Regions from separate parts of the Homo sapiens genome. Here region 1 is linked to region 2. Evidence: promoter capture Hi-C in human tissues and cell types (Jung and others, 2019). All regions are on one chromosome and are shown on one strand. Each heading gives the region's core, a stretch centred on a gene start or on the middle of the fragment in contact. The rest is flanking DNA. Distances are from core to core; before and after follow the strand shown. Region 1 holds the start of RNASE2 (ribonuclease A family member 2). Region 2 holds the start of TRY-GTA4-1 (tRNA-Tyr (anticodon GTA) 4-1).

Evidence for each region. The method cuts DNA at HindIII sites, captures the fragments that hold promoters and counts their contacts. A contact is called where the count stands out against the background at its distance.
Region 1: a contact is called between the fragment with the promoter of RNASE2 here and a fragment that was not itself captured in region 2, in 1 of the 25 tissues and cell types used here (adrenal gland).

The regions. Positions count from the first base shown.
Region 1 is chr14:20,953,615-20,956,985 of GRCh38, forward strand. It overlaps RNASE2 (ribonuclease A family member 2), which reads left to right and starts at 1,873. Exons shown (of 2, transcript NM_002934.3): 1 at 1,873-1,922; 2 at 2,153-2,822. The coding sequence starts at 2,158. The coding sequence ends at 2,643. The HindIII fragment of the contact is 15,094 bases long and covers 1-3,371 here.
Region 2 is chr14:20,655,034-20,658,546 of GRCh38, forward strand. It overlaps TRY-GTA4-1 (tRNA-Tyr (anticodon GTA) 4-1), which reads right to left and starts at 2,524; the gene lies at 2,431-2,524. It overlaps LOC124903281 (a long non-coding RNA gene), which reads left to right. Exons shown (of 2, transcript XR_007064059.1): 2 at 2,672-3,513. The HindIII fragment of the contact is 3,874 bases long and covers 256-3,513 here.

The DNA.
Region 1 (3,371 bases), core at 623-3,122, 300 kb after region 2:
TACCCAGCTCTAATTGATACCACACAGCAACGGAGACACAGTGCACCAACCAACATCATGTGATTTTTAAAGATAAGACAGTAATGAAAACTTTTAGTGAACTATTCCAATGTCAAACTTTACCTTCCAAACCAAACATTATAAATAGCACTGTATATGCTGAAAAGAGGCACTGTTTAGCCAGGTACCTGCCCTGGGGCTGCAGTCTATGTCTTTTGCCTCATACTATAGACACTTGAGTGCAAGTCTTTCTACCCAGTGTGTCTGTCAGCATCACAGAGCGGATACTCTACGTATCATTCACCTTTACATTCTCATCACCTGCAAAAATGATCTCCACACAATATACATGAAAAAAGAATTTGCTTCATGATAAAGCTGCTAATGAATGTCGGCCAGAAGAGGACTTCAAGGCAGAGCAATATTAGCTGCGCATTGAGTCCTCACTGGGTCACCATTGTGTCCACATTTACCTAAGGACCCCAGTGATAAAATTATTGCATTTCTAAATGACAGGAAAATTGGATGGTAGTAAAAATTATGTAGATTAACTGTTGGAAGGTATATTATATCATTTAAGGGTCTAATATCAATTTTCTAATCTGAAAGCTAGACCAGATTTAACATCTCTTAGTACTCAGGTCTTACCACTGCAATTCACTTCCCACCTCTGTACAATTTCCCCACATCATCCCCTGTGCCCAGAATGCTCATCTCTTCCCTAAAGTCCCTGAAAACTCCCTGCTTATCTTTTAGGGCCCTGCTGAAATCAAACTTTTTTTTTTGAAGTCTTCCTTGTCCCTCAAGCCAAGTGATTTCCTTCACCCTCGGCGTCCCCATGAAACCATGTTCACACAAGTGTAATACAATTATGTGTCTACAATTACTTTCCTGTATGTCTCTGAGGGCCAAGAATAAATGTATGCTTTGTGTATCAAACTGTACACTTGACCTCTATACTTTCAGGAATACAGTGCTCTGTCCTTAAATGTTCATTTGTAAATACAGAACCATTTTCTTGTTAATATCACAAAATGAAACTTACCAGGAAGATGAATGACAACCCCAGAACACAGTGTTTTGTAGAAAATACCATAGGCTGAAAAGATCACAGGAATACCGAGTGCTAGGTTGGAATCTTTCATGACACCAAATGTTCATTCATTCTCTGCCAGACTTTACAACTGTCCTCGGTGTGTTTTTAGGTTGTGTAACTTTACACAAAGTGGAAGCAATAATCAGGGCAAGACTTAAGAGAAAGTGGATCCAATGCAAGAGGAGTAAAGAAAAAAATCCCTCAAGTATGTGTAGCAGATTGTTTTAATTATCTACAGAATCTTGTGCCCTAAGAAATTAATAGCTCAAGTTTCCAGCAAGAGTGGTGGATGAGATGGAGAGCATTTGTGTGAGAGAGAACCAAGGATATTACTAAAAATGAAAGGGAAGCTGGGTTTCTCCTGGGCAAACAGCCCTCAGTGGCTCTATTTGTTCTAACTACTATGCCTGCCTTCATGTACTTTGGTCATTTAGTGGCCTGCCAGAGGACAGTTATAAAATCTGTGGTCATTCTGCAGGCAGCATATAGTTTTCATCCAGAGTTTGGATCTAACCAGCAAAACTCTGTCTTACACAGGATGACTTGGAATTAGAGTCCTTATAGCAGAAAGAGCAGCAGGGCTGTCCTTGGGTATCCGTTGCTCAGCCAAGTCATCAAATAAAAAGGATGATTGCACAAGTGGACTATGTACCAATCTGTGGGTTTCTGCATGGCCAAGAGCCAGACCCTCCCTCTGGGCTCTGCTGGCCCAACCCACCAAGGGATGCTTTATTTAAACAGTTCCAAGTAGGGGAGACCAGCTGCCCCTGAACCCCAGAACAACCAGCTGGATCAGTTCTCACAGGAGCTACAGCGCGGAGACTGGGTAAGTCAACGATCCCCAGAGCTGGGACAGAAGGGGCAGCAATGGGGCAGCAACTGAGGGAGAAGAGAGCTGACGTTAGTGCTTAGGAGACGTTGCACACTTTGCAGACAGGAAGTAAAGGAAATGGGACCCCAGAGTGGCCGCAGAGGGGCCTGTGGGGTAAGACACTACAGTGTGTGTCATAACCAAGACCCGATCAGGGAGTAGTTACTTCTCTTCTTTTCTTACAGGAAACATGGTTCCAAAACTGTTCACTTCCCAAATTTGTCTGCTTCTTCTGTTGGGGCTTCTGGCTGTGGAGGGCTCACTCCATGTCAAACCTCCACAGTTTACCTGGGCTCAATGGTTTGAAACCCAGCACATCAATATGACCTCCCAGCAATGCACCAATGCAATGCAGGTCATTAACAATTATCAACGGCGATGCAAAAACCAAAATACTTTCCTTCTTACAACTTTTGCTAACGTAGTTAATGTTTGTGGTAACCCAAATATGACCTGTCCTAGTAACAAAACTCGCAAAAATTGTCACCACAGTGGAAGCCAGGTGCCTTTAATCCACTGTAACCTCACAACTCCAAGTCCACAGAATATTTCAAACTGCAGGTATGCGCAGACACCAGCAAACATGTTCTATATAGTTGCATGTGACAACAGAGATCAACGACGAGACCCTCCACAGTATCCGGTGGTTCCAGTTCACCTGGATAGAATCATCTAAGCTCCTGTATCAGCACTCCTCATCATCACTCATCTGCCAAGCTCCTCAATCATAGCCAAGATCCCATCTCTCCATATACTTTGGGTATCAGCATCTGTCCTCATCAGTCTCCATACCCCTTCAGCTTTCCTGAGCTGAAGTGCCTTGTGAACCCTGCAATAAACTGCTTTGCAAATTCATCTGAAAGTGTCTGTGTGTCTTCATTAGCCGCTCTGCTGTCATTTAGTGACAATCTACTCTAGAGATTTTTCTTCCTCTAACCTGAGACTTCCGGGAAACAGAGAGATTTGAAGATAAGAGACGCTTTCTGTCATGAAACAGCACAGTCTTATCCCTCTCCCTGCTTTAGGCTGAGAAGCTGAGGTCTCAACCGATATCTAGCAACTGTCGAAGACTCTTGCTTTGATCAAGCTTTAGTCATCTCCTCTAAACCCTCTTCACAACTAGGTCATCCTGTTGGGCTTCCTAGTCCTTCCTTGTAGAGTCATTTGTATTTATTTTTTATTTTATTTTATTTTATTTTATTTTATTTTATTTTATTTTATTTATTTTATTTTTTGAGACAGAGTCCCGCTCTGTCGCCCAGACTGGAGTGCGTGGCGAGATCTCAGCTCACTGCAAACTCCACCTCCCAGGTTCAAGCTATTCTCCTTCCTCCGCCTCCCGAGTAGCTGGGATTACAGTTATGCACCATCATACCCAGCCAATTTTTGTAATTTTTAGAGAGG
Region 2 (3,513 bases), core at 943-3,442:
TCTCTCTTATTCCCTGAACATTGCTGTTATACTGTTCTTTTTTCAGGGTGCCCACATTTCATATTGCTCAAACACACATGCTGTACAATTTGTGTACTTAACGCAATTATTACAGGGTCCTGAGACAATATACATCCTCCTCAACTGACAGGATTAAGAGATTAAAGTAAAGAGAGGCATAGGAAATCACAAGGGTATTGATTGGGGAAGTGATAAGTGTCCATGAAATCTTTACAATTTATGTTTAGAGATTGCAGTAAAGACAGGCACAAGAAATTACAAAAGTATTAATTTGGGGAACTAATAAATGTCCATAAAATCTTCACAATCCACATTCTTCTCTCATGGCTTCAGCCGGTCCCTCTGTTTGGGGTCCCTGACTTCCCGCAACACCACTACCCCAAGACCACTGGGACACCCACCCCCCAGCTGAACACCTACTGGAGGTGCAGCAAGCCACATCCAAGGAACCTGGCCACCATTGAGTTTAAGTCCACTCCCTGTCTTATGGCAAGTGGGTCTGGATCTCTGAGGGCAAGGGTCAGATGCTCACAGAACCCAGCTACTCTGTCATGGCTCAAACAGGAAGAGTTGGTACCCAGGTTTCAACCTTGCTTGTGCTGGCCACCAAAGCCCATTCACTGGCTCACCTCTGATTTTCCCACCAAAACACTAAACAGAGGTTCCGAAGAACCTGGGGGTCTCTATATCCCATCATGAACTTATCCAATAAGGGACAAAGGTACTACATTTCGTCTGTGTTCGCTAGCCTCTGCCTTTGGTGTCATTGGAGGCAGGGATCTCTCTGTGGCTCCAAAGCCATAGAATCATCCTGGGCACTGGCGATGCCACAGCTTGGCCTCCTTCTGTTAGCAATGAGAAGCAGGAAAGGCTGACAAAGCCAGGGGAACATTGGGGGAAATAGGGAGGTGGAGGGAGATCAGGAGCTGCTTCCCAAGAAAGACCTGTGTAGTCTTCAGTTTGAGACCTGCAATGAAACAGCTCTTGTGGCCACAGCAGGTAGTGGAGGCAGGTGTCCCAGTCCCCAGAGGGTTTCAGAGGGCCACGTTCCCATGGGCCATTTGGCTTGGAGTGCTCTCTGTGATAGGTTGCATGTGCGCATCAAATCTCTGGAGATTTTTTCTGAGATGGTGAGATGAGACCAAGGAACGCTTGTTGGCTTTCTTCTCTGCCCCATACCCACAGAACCCACTCCATCTCCCTGGAGGTGTAACCCCTGTTCGTTGGAGAAAACCTAAGTCCATTTCCTACTTCATTCTCTCTGATTAGGCCTCAGCACTTTTTCCTTTGGGGTGAGGGTAGAGTCCAACTGTGCCTCTAGTCCCAAAGCTCCAAACTGCTCAGACCCACCAGGCAGTGGCCTAAGGCAGCGAATTCGTGTGCCTCTGTATAATGACAGCTGTCACTCAAGCTTTACTTCTGCTCCCTGCCATGGACCCAACAGCCTCTAACTCTCCAGGATCACTGAAGCTCTTTTCCAGCCTGCACTTTTGTACTCCCCTTCCATCTCCCTTACCCTCTCAAGTAGCAGGGCACTCAACACAGGTGTTTTTGCTGGCTTTGAACTGAATATTAGGTCCTTTCTTTTCTAGCAGGGGCCAAACTCCGCTGTAGCAGCATGAAAAGTTGTGAAGGCTCAGAAAAAGTGAGGCTTGAGGGATTTGGGAAAAGCTATGGGGATAGGGGATAGACTCACCTTGTCCTCAACCTAAAGGGCAACCTGACCTTGCTAATGGAAGTTCTTAGGATTAGGAAATTCTCAGGGTGACAGCTGTCTCCCCAAAGTAGACACAGCAAAGTGGGAATGAACATTTTCTTTACGCCTGTATAGGTCTATACATTTCCAGCCAAGGAGAATGAGAGGGGCAGGCTGAGGGCTCAGGGAAGAGAGATAGGGAGGCAGAGACACAGAGACAAAGAGAAATATACAGAGACAGAGAAACGGTGAAAGAGAGAAAGAGAATGAGACAGAGACAAACATGAGACTGTCAGATCTCAATGCAGTGATAAAGAGCCTGAGATGGATGAGAGTGAGAGGGTGAGTTTTCACGGAAGATACCACGGTTATCCCCACTTTACACCCTTGTCAAGTAAGCTTGACGTTCTCCAGGGAACTTGACCTTCCAGGCTTTGCCCACCTGGTCAGGAGAGCTCTGTCAAAGGTGAGCACAGCGGTTTTGTCACAGCCAGTGGAGATGCTCAAGCTCGAGAGCAGTCTGTGAAGAAAAGCGAAGGAGCACAGGGTGGGGAAGTAGTGGTCAGCATGAATAGAGGGATTAGTGGGGTCACAAAGTAGAAGCAAGGCGTGGGAAGCTAGGTGATCAGGAAAGACTTCGTGGGTGTTTTGCCCGGGAGAGTGTGGTTACTACTTGGAAGCTGCAGGGCTTTTAACCAAAAGCATCACGCACTTCCTTCGAGCTGGAATCGAACCAGCGACCTAAGGATGTCCGCAAATGTCTATACAATCTACAGTCCTCCGCTCTACCAGCTGAGCTATCGAAGGATGCATGCTATCAAAGCTGGTTCATTGGACTTTCTGCAAACAGAGGGAGCCACATCCCTGGAATGCTTGAGGTCCAATACGCGTTGGGTTGGTTGGCACCCACCTTGGAAGAGAACCCTGCGCCGCTTGACACCACACCCCTTTCAGGGCGGAGCAAATCCTCTGGGCGAGGATGCCTGGTGTCTCTCGGGCTCTGATAGCCACCATCCACGAGGAGGAGCTCTCATCTGTGACAGCCTTCCTCTCCCTGAGCATCCACCTTTCTACAGGTGAGGATGACAGCCCCCAGTGGCCTGAGAGAAAATGAGAAGGTGAGTCAGCGAGGGCACAGGGATTGGCGAGGTGGTTGGGTGGGTCTAGTCGGGGAGAGAACGCTGGAGGAGGAAAAGAGGAGAACCCTAATGGGCGCTGGATAGGCAGCTGACAACTCCAACCCAACCTCAGAGTCTGGTGCAGGTCTCTAATGGGCGCTTCCATAATAGTCTGGCCTCTCTACTCCCTCCCCTACCACACACACAGGGCCCTCCTCCCCAGGTGCCCCGCCCTTCTCCTCATAGTAGTCTATGCTCACATTTTGGTGCATTGAGGTGCACTGGGAAGTGAGGTGAGGAAATCTCTCCCAGGCTTGCAGAGGCACATGTGAGATACCCTCTTCTGCAAACAGGCTGAGAATTCCAATCAGAAGCTGCTGATTTCTGAAGTAGGGCAAAGTTCTGTGGGTTTCTTTGAAAAACAAGAAGCCAGGTAGAGGACAGAAGTGTGAGCTTTGGACTCCTTATCCTGAACCCACATCTTTGACAAAAGTTTCAGATCCCATCTGGTGTGTGCCCACCACTCCGAGACCACTGAGGCACCCTCTCTGCAGCAGAACACCTAGAGGAGGACAGGAAGCCACACCCACGGGACCTAGCCTCCATTGAGTTTATGTCCACTTCCTGTCTTATGGCAAGTGGGTGTGGATCTCCGAGAGTGAGGATCAGATCCTCACA